Linked DNA regions of Homo sapiens: regions 2, 3, 4 and 5 are each linked to region 1. Evidence: promoter capture Hi-C in 16 types of primary human blood cells and fetal thymus (Javierre and others, 2016). All regions are on one chromosome and are shown on one strand. Each heading gives the region's core, a stretch centred on a gene start or on the middle of the fragment in contact. The rest is flanking DNA. Distances are from core to core; before and after follow the strand shown.

Region 1 (2,545 bases), core at 35-2,534:
CTTCGTCTCAAAACAAACATACAAACAAACAACAACAACAAAAAATCCCTCGCTTTTTTGCTGGTATCTATAGTGCTTTTTTTGCTGGTATCTATAGCTTTTGTGAGACTCAGTTTATTTAGCTTTAGCTTTCCTGATATTATTATTCTTACAAATTTTGCCTTGGGACACTCTTTCCATTCATTGATTCAGGCAATACTTATTGAGCACCTACTATTTGCCAAGCACTGGGAAGCCATTGAGAATAAAACAGTGAAGAGTTAGAAAAGGTCTCTGATCTGATGGAGGGCCTATTCTACTGGTGCTAACTGAACAAGTAATATGTGCTCTGAAGACATTAAAACAAGACAATGTGATGGGGGATGCTGAGAATCCAGTAGGAAACTACTTAGATGGGAAAATCAGGGAAGGTCCCTACAAAGGAGACATATATGCTGAAACCTCAATAAAGAGAAGCAGCCAGCCATGCAAGGATATGGAGGGAGAGCAGTTATGGCAGAGGGGTCAGCAAAGACAAAGGCCCTGAGGCAGGGAGGAGCTTAGCATGGAAGGGGAACCTGGGAGGCCGGCTGGCTGGACTTGAGTGAACATGGGGCTGAGATGAGATCAGAGGAGAGCAGAGGCCAGATCCCCCGGGCTCCTAGGTCAGGGTGGGGCTGGTGCTTAGGAGTTCTGAGGCTGACTCTGATTTAGTCTGAGGTCGGTGTCCCTCTCAATCCCGACTCACTTGTGGTCCTCTATGGCCCGCAGGCTTGTTGAAAGTGCCCCACTTCCTTCCTCACAGCAGCCTCTGTGCAATCCGAATTGCGCTGTGAATTTCCCTGCCACTCAGGAGCCCGGGGCAGGGCTTCACCCCTAGTTCAGTTACCAGGAACCAATCTTTCTCCACCTTCCTGCCCTAGCCCCACTGGGTCTGTCTCTGCATCTGTGAAATGGCTGAGTGTGACCAAATGATGCAGGTAGCCTTTCCACTTCTTTCTACCCGTGGCGCCTCGGGTGGAGGCGTGGAGTTTGATTGGAAGAGGGTAAAGCAAAAGTGGAATCCTGGCGAGAAATGAAACTGAAAGAAAAAATTCCTCCTGGAATTTTTTGGCTCTAAGGAGGCCAGCAGCGGGGGTTTGGGGTAGGAGGCAGAGGTAGAGAAGGAGGGAGGTTTTTAGAAAGCTGACCGGGCAGGAGCCCTGTGACCCAGGCTTTCACTTCTCCTAAACACCCAGTAGCGCCATGTGATGCAGGCAGGGGACTGCGGATAGGGCCTGTGAAAGGGGAAGCGAGGGGAGCCCAGAGTTTCTCAAGAAGCCGAGAGAGGGACAGAGGCTGAGCCTGGGGGGAGGGCTGCAGGGGACTGAGAGGGGAGTGTAGGCAGTGGGGGTGAGGGGGACAGGGAGGAGGTGGAGAAGACGGCAAGGGGCAGCAGGGTGACTGGGGCAGAGGGAGCCCCCACCCCACGCCCAGGGCAGGCCAGGAGTCATAAGGAGAGGGGACAACAGGAAGGGGCGACAAACGGGGAGGGGAAAGGGAGGCGGAGGGGCAGCGAAGTGAAGCAGGGAGGGTCGCAGTGTGAACAAGAGTGCGAGGAAGGGTCAAGGTGGAGGGAGGAGAGGGGAGAGTTAGGGAGAAACAGCTGCAGGAGAGGCGCGGGGAGGAAGCCTTAGGGGTGGGGGAAGGGAGAGGGGAGTTGAGAATTAGGGAGGAGGTGGTAGAGTCCGGGTAGTGAGCGGAGGGACAGGAAGGGTAGGGCAAGAAAGGGAGAGGGGACAGGAGGGAAGGGTGGGCCAAAGCGGTGAGAAAGGAGGGCCAGCCAGTTGGGTGGGGGAGAGGGCCGAGGCCCGGGGGCAGGAGTGCAGGGCTCTGAGGCGGGGAGAGGAGAGGAGAGAAGAGCCGCGGGGGGCCCAGCCCGGAGCCAGGATGCCCGCGCCGCGCGCCCGGGAGCAGCCCCGCGTGCCCGGGGAGCGCCAGCCGCTGCTGCCTCGCGGTGCGCGGGGCCCTCGACGGTGGCGGCGGGCGGCGGGCGCGGCCGTGCTGCTGGTGGAGATGCTGGAGCGCGCCGCCTTCTTCGGCGTCACCGCCAACCTCGTGCTGTACCTCAACAGCACCAACTTCAACTGGACCGGCGAGCAGGCGACGCGCGCCGCGCTGGTATTCCTGGGCGCCTCCTACCTGCTGGCGCCCGTGGGCGGCTGGCTGGCCGACGTGTACCTGGGCCGCTACCGCGCGGTCGCGCTCAGCCTGCTGCTCTACCTGGCCGCCTCGGGCCTGCTGCCCGCCACCGCCTTCCCCGACGGCCGCAGCTCCTTCTGCGGAGAGATGCCCGCGTCGCCGCTGGGACCTGCCTGCCCCTCGGCCGGCTGCCCGCGCTCCTCGCCCAGCCCCTACTGCGCGCCCGTCCTCTACGCGGGCCTGCTGCTACTCGGCCTGGCCGCCAGCTCCGTCCGGAGCAACCTCACCTCCTTCGGTGCCGACCAGGTGAGTGGCAGGAGGCCTGCCCCGGCATACTCCGGCGGGTGTGGAGGGAAGGAGGGCTGGCCCCCAGCGTGACCTGGGA
Region 2 (2,545 bases), core at 13-2,512, 250 kb before region 1:
TTTTTTTTAACTGTGAATCTCACTCCAGTATGACTAGCCCTTGTATTTTCCACGTTCATGTCTTCTGGTGCCTCCTTCTCTTCCTCTTTCTTTCCTCCCTCTCAAGCCTCTCTCTCTGTTTTATGAGACAGGGTCTTATTCTGTCACTCAGGGTAGAGCGTAGTGGGGTGATCATGGCTTACTGCAGCCTCAGCCTCCCACGCTCAATTAGTCCTCTGGCCTCAGGCTCTGAGTAGCTGGGATGAAAGGCATGAGCCACTACACCGAGCTAACTTTTGTATTTTCTGTAGAGACAGGGCTTCACTATGTGGCCCAGGCTGGTTTCGAACTCCTGGGCTCAAGCGATCTTCCTGCCTCAGCTTCTCAAAGTGCTGGGATTACAGTGAACCACACTGCACCTGGCCCTCTCTCTCTTTATGGATACATAATATTTTACATATTTTTTTTGGGTACATGTGATATTCTGTTACAGGCATAGAAAGAGTAATGATGAAGTCAGGGTATTTGGAGTATCCATCACCTAAGTATGGGTTGATCCTAGCACTCATGTGAAGAACCTGATGGTCCTGAAGATGCTGCCTAAGTTCTGGGGGCACCAGATGGAATCCCCTCACTCAAGGCTGCCACCAGATGGAAGGGAGGGAGCTTGGAGCCCAAGGATGGGCACTGATTTTGGGGGCACAGTTTGTCTGGGGCCCACATGGGAATTTTGAGCAGAGAAGTATATTTGGGAAGCAGAAGGAAGATTCCCCAGGCAGAAACCTGCAAGCCCCTTTACACATTCATTCAAATGCCTTATTGTGCACTTGCTGTGTACCGTGCAGGGATGCTCTAGCTGCAGAGGGTACATCCCTGAGCATGGTAGGACTAGGCCGTGCCTTTGGCGCATTTGTGGTCAGTTGAAGGGAAAGCTGGTGTGGAAGGGGCTCTTCCTTTCCACCTGGATGGATATTTGGATCACATTGAGGGGAAGCTCTCAGATTGGTGAAGATGATAATGTTTCTCCACATTAGAGATTTTAGCACCCTGAGGGACGCTGGCATGCTTGCTGACACCAATTCAGGGGTATGGCAGAGAGACTGTAGGATGGCCCCCAATTATTCATGCTGCTGGTGTTCACATCCCTGCGTAATCCCCTCCCCTTTTGTGTAGGCAGGACTTGCTTCTAGCCAACAGGATACAGCAAAGTAGATGGGATGTTGCTTTTGCGATGACATTATACAGGCTTGTAGCTTGTGTCTTGCTAGCACACTGTCTGTATAGACTCTTCCTCTTGCTGGCTCTGATAAAGAAAGCTGCCCTATAAAGAGGCCCAAGGGGAAGGACCCAAGGGTGGCCTCCAGCTGACAGCCAGCAAGGAACTCAGGCCTTCAGTGTGACAATCTACAAGTAACTGAATCCTGCCAGCAAGCGTGTGAGCATGGAAGCAGATCCTTCTCTAGTCAAGCCTCAGATGAGACCACAGACCAGGCTGACATCCCTGACTGACAGAGGCCTCAGCTGTACCGAGCCTGGATTCCTGACCCACAGAAACAGTGAGATAGTGAGTCAGTGTGAGTTGTTGTAAGTCATTCAGTGTGTGTTAACTTGTCATCAGCAATAGAAAGCAGGACTGGAAACCTCTTGAAAACTCCAAAAAGATCCACCTGGTTGCCTCTTGCTCTTCCCTCTTTTGGGACCATTTCAGTGCTCTGCTAGGTGGTTTTCTGCTCAGGCAATATGAGTGATCTGAAAAGGGAGAAGGTGACGTTGTTGGTCAGGTCATCTGCAAACCTCCCTCAACATAGTAGTGCTTACATTTGTGTGCCTATTTGTGCTTTTCTGAATGCTTTGAATTATTTTAAAAAGAATTATTAAACTATTACTCCCACTTTTTCCCAACGGACATAGCTCAGAGGGGTTAAGTGATCAGTGCAGGTTCACATAACTAAGTAATGACACAGATGGGACCTGAACCTGGGTCTCAGGAGGCTCTGGTCCCTGGCCAGACTATGTGACTATGTACATCCACCTGGTTTCTGCTCATGGGTTAGTGTGTGACAGGAACATTCCATGATGGCTGCAGCCTCCATCCCAGGGGCACTTGGAGAAGCCATTCCACTCAGCCCCCTTGACCAGAAGAACCCTTGGGATGGAAAAGGGAATCCTGATTCTGCAACTACGTGCTCCCATGAGATCTGATTTTCAGCCAGGGCTGATCCGTGGCTGCCAGCAAGGAAGCCACATCATCTCATTGTACTAGACTGGCCCGGCTGAAAGATTAGACAACAACGTTTACTTTGCCATTAGCCCTGCCTGGCACTCAGTATGGTATTGCCTGGCTTTCAGGGGCACTGGTAGCAGTGTCTCCGATGCAGGGCAGCCCCTGCCAAGGGCACAGGTGTTCATAAATATTCCATGAACCAATCAAATCAAGCAATGGAATGAGATCTAAGGAACCTAGTCACGGCAAGCCTGAGACAGAGCACTTAAGCATGATAAATGTTATCGAGCTGGTCTGATAGGCATTGGGGCAGCTGGTCCCCTCGCAGTTTTCAATCAAGGT
Region 3 (2,545 bases), core at 16-2,515, 200 kb before region 1:
AAATAGAGGATTTAAAAATTACGGTATATCTCTTAAAAAGTTTTTTACTTCTAAACAATTTGTGTCTTTATATTGAAAGTGGGCTTCTTGTAGGCAGCATATAGATGGGTGGTGTTTTTGTTTTTGTTTTTTTTTGAGACAGAGTCTCCTTCTGTTGCCCAGGCTGGAGTACAGTGGTGTGATCTTGACTCACTGCAACTGCCTCCTCCTGGGTTCAAATGATTCTCATGCCTCAGCTTCCTGAGAGCTGGGATTACAGGCGTGTGCCTACCATGCCCAGCTAATTTTTTGGTATTTTTAGTAGAGACGGGATTTCACCATGTTGGCTAGGCTGGTCTTGAACTCCTGACCTTAAGTTATCTACCCACCCCTCCCAAAGTGCTGGGTTTACAGGCGTGAACAACTGCACCTGGCCGGGGGTTGCTTTTTAATCCAATCTCACAAGCTGCATTTTAATTGGGGTGTTAAGACTATTTAGATTTAATGTGGTTATTGATATGGTTGAGTTTAAATCTACCTTCTTGCTATTTGTTTTCAATTTGTCCCATGTGCTTTGTTCCCTTTTTCCTTTTTTATGACTTCTTTGGGATCGAATAATTTTTATGATTCCACTTTGTTTCCTTTGTTGGTTCATTAATTCGAACACTTTTTAGTGGTTGCTTTAAGGTATATAGTATGCATCTTTAATTTGCTACAGCCTATCTTCAAGCGATATTATACCACTTTAGTGTAAGAATCTTGCAATAGTTTACTTTCATTTCCTTCCTCCTGGACTTTGTATTGTTGTCACCTGTTTTACTTCTACACGTGCCATAAATCCCACAACACATTGTTATTTTTGCTTTAAATAGTCAATTATTTTTTAAGGAGATGAAAATGTAAAGTTCTTTTATATTTACTTGTTCGTTTAACATTTTTGGTGCTCTTTATTCCTTCATGTAGATCCACATTTCTATCTTGTTTCATGTTCCTTCTGACTTGAGGACATCCTTTTAACATTTCTTGTGGTGCTGGTCTGTTAGTGATGGATTCTTTCAGCTTTTGGGTGTCTAGAGAAGTCTTTATTTTGGCTTTGTTTTTGGAAGGCATTTTCCCTGTATAGAATTCTGGATTAACTATTTTTTTTTTCAGTGCTTTAAAGATGTTCCAGTGTCTTTTGCTTGCATTGTTTCATATCAGTAGTCTGCTATTTTTCTTTCCTTTTTTCTTCTTGCTTTTTAAGAGGCAGAATCTCACTCTGTCATCCAGGCCAGAGTGCAGTGGCGTGATCATAGCTCACTGTGGCCTCAAACTTCTGGGCTCAAGTGATCCTCCCACCTCAGGGTCCCTAGTAGCTAAGACTACAGGTGTGTATCACCATGCCTGGGTAGTTGTTTTTTAATGATTATTCTTTATTTTTGTAGAGATAGGGTCTTGCTATGTTGCTCAGGCTGGTCTTGACTTCCTGGCCTCAAGTGATCCTACGGCATCAGCTTCCCAAAGTGATGAGATTACAAGCATGAGCCACCACACCTGGTCTGTTTATTTTTATTTTTTGCTCTTCTGTTTGTAATGTATCTTTTCTCCTTATAACTGCTTTTCTTTCTCCCTGTCCCCCCGCCTTTTTTTTTTTTTTGGAGACAGAGTCTCACTCTGTCATCCAGGCCAGAGTGCAGTGGCGTGATCATAGCTCACTGCAGCTTCAAACTTCTGGGCTCGAGGGATCCTCCCACTTCAGCCTCCCAAGTAGTTGGGACCACAGGTGTGTGCCACCATGCCAGGCAAATTTTTTATTTTTTGTAGAGACAGGGTCTCACTATGTTGCCCAGGGTGGTCGAAAACTCCTGGGCTCAAGCGATCCTCCCACCTCGGCCTTCCAAAGTGCTGAGATTGCAGGTGTGAGCCACTGTGCCTGGCCCTAACTGCTTTTCTAACTGAGTTTAAACAATGTAATGATGATGTGCTTTTGTGTAGTGTAATTTTCTTTGTGTGTTTTGTGCTTGGGTTCATTGAGTTTTTTGGATTTGTGGGTTTATAGCTTTCATCAGATTTGGAAATTTTTCAGTCAGTAACTCTGCAAATATTTTTTTTATTCCCTTTTCTCTTTCCTCTCTTTCGGGGACTCCAGTTACATGTATGTAAGGGTGCTAGAGGTTGCTCCATAGCTCTCTGATCATTCATTTTTCCCAGTAGTCCCTTTTTCTTTTCTCTCTGTGGTTTGTTCTGGTTAGTTTCTATTGCTCTTTCTTCAAATTCACTGGTCTCTTCTGCATTGTCTAATCTGCTGATATTACCTTTCAGTATACTTTTTATCACAGACATTGTAGTTTTCATCTCTAGAAGTTTGATTTGGGTCTTTTAAATATCTTCCCTGTCTCTAACATGCTTAATCTTTCTTTTAGCTTCTTGAACATATGGAATATAGTTTTAGGAACTGTTTTAATGTCCTTGCCTACTAATTCCATTATCTGTGTATTTTTTGGGTCTGTTTCTATTGCTTCCCTCATTATGAGTCTTATTTTCTTGATTCTTTGTATGTCTGGTAATTTTTATTGTATATCAGATG
Region 4 (2,545 bases), core at 31-2,530, 180 kb before region 1:
GGCACTTGAATTTTGTGGTGTGCAGCCACACCTGTCCCATCGATCTGAACTCTCTGAGGGGAAAAAACACTCGTGGATCAGGTAGAAATGAAGCAGGACAAGCCACTTAGACTTCAGACCATTGGCAAACTTTTTTATCGTGGGCTATAAGACAGTCATTGAGTCACAGTGGGATTGTGAGAAGAGACAGGAGCTCTCTATTAGTTCGGGACATGGACACGGCTAGGAGAGAAGGGAGTTGGCAGGGGCTCTCTCCGTGTAGAAGAGTGTGCATAGAGGGGTGTGTGGAGGGGAGCTGCTTTGGGTTGGGGGCCAGATATAGAAGGGAAACACCGTAACTTATTAAGGAAAGTTAGTCAAAATGGTTTTATCTCCCACTTTGCAACTTTTTTTAATTTTTGTTTTTTTAGGCAGGGTCTTACTTTGTCACCCAGGCTGGAGTGCAATGGCGCCATCATGGCTCACTGCAGCCTCCACCTCCTGAACTCAAACAATCCTCCCACCTCAGCCTCCCAAGTAGCTGGGACTACAGGTGCACACCACCACACCTGGCTAATTTCTAAATTTTACATAGCAACTTTTAAGAACTATTAGATACTTCTTGTTGAGTTTTGCTGTAGATTCAAAGAAAATTGATAATTATCTATAAAGGTTAGTAGCGACTCCTTCCTTTTCTAGCTATATATCTGTATGAGTATAGATTCTTCCTCCTTATTTCCACCAAAGTAATATACTAGGGCAGATTGAATTCAGAAGCAGCAAAACATGTGAAAACATCTTTTATTTACCTATTTTTAGTCTTACCTCTTTTCAGTGACTGGGAGGACTTCACACTGAACCCCTAATATGCATCGATATGCAATTTTCTAAATTGATGCATATTTTGCATATTTATGGGGAAGATGAGAATCTTTGTTGCATGCATAGAATGTGTGATGATCAGGCTGGGCGCGGTAGCTCATGCCTGTAATCCCAGCACTTTGGGAGGCCGAGGTGGGTGGAAGACCTGAGGTCAGGAGTTCGAGAGCAGCCTAGCCAACATGGTGAAACCCCATCTCTACTAAAAATACAAAAATTAGCCAGGCGTGGTGGCACGTGCCTGTAGTCCCAGCTACAAGGGAGCAAGGGAGGCTGAGGCAGGAGAATCGCTTGAACCCAGGAGGCAGAGGTTGAAGTGAGCCGAGATTGCGCCATTGCACTCCAGCCTGGGCAACAGAGCGAAACTCTGTCTCAAAAAAAAAAAAAAAAAAAAAATGTGTAATTAAGGTCAGGGCATTTAGGGTCTCCATCACCTTGAGTATTTGTTGTTTCTGTGTGTTGGGAACATTTTACGCTTCTTGCTACTTTGAAATATACAATACATTGTTGCTGACCATAGTCACCCTACTCAGCTGTTGAACATTAGAACTTACTTCTTCTATCTACCTATATGTTTCTACCCATTGACCCACTTCGTGGAGAAAGATGTAAGAAGGCTGTGGAGACAGGGAGCAGAAATAAGTAGGGCAAGATTTAGGGGAAAATGATACAGCGTCGATTTGTTGGTTTAGACGCAGGGAAAAGGCAGTGGACCTATAGGGAGGCCAGAGGATCCATGGGGCCCTGCAAGGGATGGGTGAGCAGGAGGGCTTTAGGCCTTTCACTCTGGGTCAGCCATGTAAGTAAAGTTTCCATGGCTAATAAAAATTAGATTGAGAGTCACGTATGGTGGTTTGTGCCTGTAGTCCCAGCTATTGGAAGGATGGGATGGGAGGATTGTTTGAGGCCAGCCTGGGCAACGTAGGGAAACCCCATCTCTACAGAAAATAAAAGAACTTAGCCAGGCGTGGTGGTGCATGCCTGTAGTCCCAGCTGCTGGAAAGGCTGAGAAGGGAATATTGCTCGAGCTCAGGAGTTTGAGGCTGCAGTGACCTATGGTCATGCTATTGCACTCATTCTGGACGACAGAATGAGACCATGTCTGTAGAAGGCAGCAGCGTGGGCTCTAGGCTGGACAGACCCTGGGCCCTACATCCCTGAACCCTGGCAGCCTTGTCTGGAGGGCTCAGGGAGGGCAGGAAGCTGTGGTATCCCTCTTTCCAATCTGGAGCACAAAGAAGAGGCAATGGGCCTGCCCCAGAGTGCAGGACCTCGGCCCCTGTAGCTGGGACAGCAGAAGGGGTAGCCTTTCCCCGAGGCCGCCTCTTCCAGAATGCCCACGGGCTTCCTATGTCTCGTGGGGCATGAGCCAGTCTGGCTTGGTCTGTCACATGCTGACCATGGTGGAGAAGCTGCACAGAGAAGCTGCACAGTGAGGGCCTGACTTAGAGTCAGTCTTGCTGAGCTGTTCCCTGCGCCCTGTGGCGGGTGCCGAGGCCTCTCTTCTGGTGCCCCATGCTGCTGACAGTGTACTGTCACTGCTGGCTCAGCATGCAGGTCTGACTCCTCAGCCCTCCTCTTAGGAAGAGGACTCCTTGGCGGATGCATGGGGCGTCACATCACAACAGCTGGCAAGGGTGCCTTGGCTTCTGTCTCACTGGCTGGCAGCGACGAAGAGCCTGGCAGA
Region 5 (2,545 bases), core at 25-2,524, 170 kb before region 1:
TTCCCTGACCTTCTGGGATGCTCTGTGACCCCACCTAGGGCAGCAGAAGGTGTCATGGGGCTTGGCCAGGTCTCACTTACCTGAGCAAAGGAGGGCAAGAACTCGGCCACTTTTCTGGGGCTTGATTTTCCTGAAGCAATGCTCCAGGGAGGTACAGCTTGAGTTCTGGATCTTCCATTGGATTGGCAAGGGCTGGTGTTCCCGTGGCTCCCCTGGGTCTTGGGCTCTGCCTGCCTCAGTCTCTGGCAGATGCTTCAAGAAGGAGCCACACTGGAGGTTGTTGCAGAGGAAGTTCTCCAGGTCCTGGGTCTTGTCCTGGGCCTCATAGCTGATGGTACCCCCCAGGCTGCCGCTGTAGAACTCCACCACGCCGGCACAGTGCTGGCCGCCAGACTGTGCCACCAGCTGCAGCCTGGGAGGAGCTAGGAGAGGAGAGAGCAGGAGGGGGAGCCACCCTGAGCGCCGAGGGCTTCCTGGGCACTCCTTGCTGTTTGGCCCCAACTTGTGGACAACTACTGACTAACGCTTAGCCTTGGGAGGTGATGGGGTCCCAAATATTGCGTAGAACACACCAATACTAAACATTTCCACCTTTGTCAGAAATTCCAATGTAACTGGGCATCCTGGGTTTTTATTTGCTAGCTCTGACTCCCTGTGGGGGGTTCAGAATCCTCTTACCTGTGGGCTCTGGAGTTGTGGTGGGCGGGGGCCTTGTCGTTGGAGGTGTTGTCTTCTGGGGTTCTGCAATGAGACACTCTGGTGAGGGAGGAATGGGTGGTGTGGGGAGGGCCGGGGGCAGCCAGCAGCCTTGAGAGGACCAGGAGCTCCTGGCATGAGTGCCGCTTGGCACACCAGGTCCACTTGACCCACACGTTGTCTCTAAGCCTCCTGCGAGGCGGGAAGTACCACCCCACTTCACAGATGGGAGAATGGAGGTTCAGAGGCGACGATGAAGTCAGTGATTGGCAGAACTAGGTCCTCCATTGCCATCCTACAGATGGGTGCTGGCCCCTTCCAGTCCCCCTCCTGGGTATGTGTCTTGGGGAGTGGTTATAAACTGGGGTCCCCCCACCCCTTCCACCAGCCTGCTCAGACCCTAGATCACAGGCCTCGGGCAGTCTCCTCGGGGCTGGCGCCCAGGCCCAGGGTGCCCGTGTGGCTGGCTAGTTACCCACCTAAGCAGGTCAGGCCCAGAGAGTGACACATGTCATTTCTGCTGTGGCTGCAGTTGGAGAAGGAGCCCAGTTGTCCGTAGCAGATGATTGAGCTCTGAGGTGTGTAGGTGACAAGGAAGGGGCCAAGGCTTAAGGGCACCCCACAGTTCAGCCGCTGGCAGACTTTTGACGCTTGACTGGGGTCCTCCCACTGCTTGGAGCTCCGGCCCCAGCTCTGGCTGCAAACCATGTGCCATCCGTCCTTGAGGTAGACCTCCAGCTGGCCCTGGCACTTCGAGTTGGAACGGGTGAGCCTTGCCTGGAAATCTGGGGGTCAGAAAGGTGTGGTGGGGGTCAGGCTGGGAGGGGTTCCCCACTGGCACCCCTCACTGCCCTCTCCCTAGGACGCCCAGTTGAGCTCCCTCCTGCCCCGTGGGCTGCCTGCCTTGCCCCTTGTGAGCTTCGTCCCTTCTGGGGCACTGCAGGGGCTTCCCAGAGGACCCTGACCCAGGCAGCCCCGAAGCTAGACCCAGGAGGGTGGGGCTCCAGATTTCAGAGTCAGAAGGGAGCTCAGATAAATGGGCAAGGTGTTCTCGGCACCCACTGTCCAGCAGGATGGCCCCTGTCCTGGAAATTCTGTCTCAAGGGGTCTGAGATTGGGGCTGGTGTCTGCTTTTTAAGAGATCTTTAAAAATTAATTTTAGGCCAGGTGTGGTGGCTCATGCCTGTAATCCCAGCACTTTGGGAAGCTGAGGCGGGCAGATCACCTGAGGTCAGGAGTTTGAGACCAGCCTGGCCAACATGGTGAAACCCCATCTCTACTAAAAAAAGAAAAAATACCAAAAATTAGCTGGGTGTGGTGGCAGGCGCCTGTAATCCTAGCTACTCGGGAGGCTGAGGCAGGAGAATTGCTTGAACCCGGGAGGCAGAGGTTGCAGTGAGCCAAGATCGCGCCACTGCACTCCAGCCTGGGTAACAGATCAAGATTCCATCTCAAAAAAAAAAAATTTTATTGAGGTAATTTTACATACAGTGAAATGCACTCATTTTAAGGATACTGTTCGATGGAATTTGACAAATGTATACATGCATGTAACCACCACCATAATCTAGATATGGAACATTTCCATCATCTAGAAAGTTCCCTAAGGCCCCTTTATAGTTAATTTCCCTGAATCTAGCCTCAGGCAAACACTGATCTGCTTTTTGTCACAAAAGATGAGTTTTGCCTGTGCTACAATGTCATAGACATGGACTCATACAGCATGGATTTTATTTTGTTTGATTTGGCTTTTTTCGCTTAGCATGTATTTGAGATTTAGCTATGTCACTGGACGCATAAGTAGTTCATTCCTTTTTATTGCCGAATGATAGTTCACTACACGGACATG

What was found. Contacts are between HindIII fragments. The CHiCAGO score rates a contact against its expected background, and 5 or more counts as called.
Region 2: a fragment that was not itself captured here is called in contact with the fragment with the promoter of SLC15A3 in region 1 in 1 of 17 cell types (non-activated CD4 T cells); the score reaches 5.7 in non-activated CD4 T cells.
Region 3: a contact is called between a fragment that was not itself captured here and the fragment with the promoter of SLC15A3 in region 1, in 8 of 17 cell types (naive CD4 T cells, activated CD4 T cells, total CD4 T cells and 5 more). The highest score is 11.5, in naive CD4 T cells.
Region 4: a contact is called between a fragment that was not itself captured here and the fragment with the promoter of SLC15A3 in region 1, in 9 of 17 cell types (activated CD4 T cells, naive CD4 T cells, total CD4 T cells and 6 more). The highest score is 14.6, in activated CD4 T cells.
Region 5: a contact is called between a fragment that was not itself captured here and the fragment with the promoter of SLC15A3 in region 1, in 8 of 17 cell types (total CD8 T cells, naive CD8 T cells, M0 macrophages and 5 more). The highest score is 10.3, in total CD8 T cells.

The regions. Positions count from the first base shown.
Region 1 is chr11:60,950,915-60,953,459 of GRCh38, reverse strand. It overlaps SLC15A3 (solute carrier family 15 member 3), which reads left to right and starts at 1,284. Exons shown (of 8, transcript NM_016582.3): 1 at 1,284-2,466. The coding sequence starts at 1,909. RefSeq lists an enhancer at 972-1,111 and silencers at 1,292-1,521, 1,842-2,001. The HindIII fragment of the contact is 22,604 bases long and covers 1-2,545 here.
Region 2 is chr11:61,198,305-61,200,849 of GRCh38, reverse strand. It overlaps LOC124902678 (a long non-coding RNA gene), which reads right to left. Exons shown (of 4, transcript XR_007062691.1): 4 at 1-1,728. Among named protein-coding and RNA genes, the nearest start is that of PGA3, 3.9 kb to the left of the region's middle. The HindIII fragment of the contact is 4,291 bases long and covers 1-2,545 here.
Region 3 is chr11:61,154,175-61,156,719 of GRCh38, reverse strand. All of the region lies in intron 1 of VPS37C (VPS37C subunit of ESCRT-I), which reads left to right. Among named protein-coding and RNA genes, the nearest start is that of VPS37C, 6.0 kb to the left of the region's middle. The HindIII fragment of the contact is 5,088 bases long and covers 1-2,545 here.
Region 4 is chr11:61,134,871-61,137,415 of GRCh38, reverse strand. All of the region lies in intron 2 of VPS37C (VPS37C subunit of ESCRT-I), which reads left to right. Among named protein-coding and RNA genes, the nearest start is that of VPS37C, 25 kb to the left of the region's middle. RefSeq lists enhancers at 1-306, 1,628-2,143, 2,144-2,545. The HindIII fragment of the contact is 3,077 bases long and covers 1-2,545 here.
Region 5 is chr11:61,117,111-61,119,655 of GRCh38, reverse strand. It overlaps CD5 (CD5 molecule), which reads right to left. Exons shown (of 11, transcript NM_014207.4): 3 at 1,176-1,481; 4 at 679-741; 5 at 81-422. Among named protein-coding and RNA genes, the nearest start is that of CD5, 16 kb to the right of the region's middle. The HindIII fragment of the contact is 5,023 bases long and covers 1-2,545 here.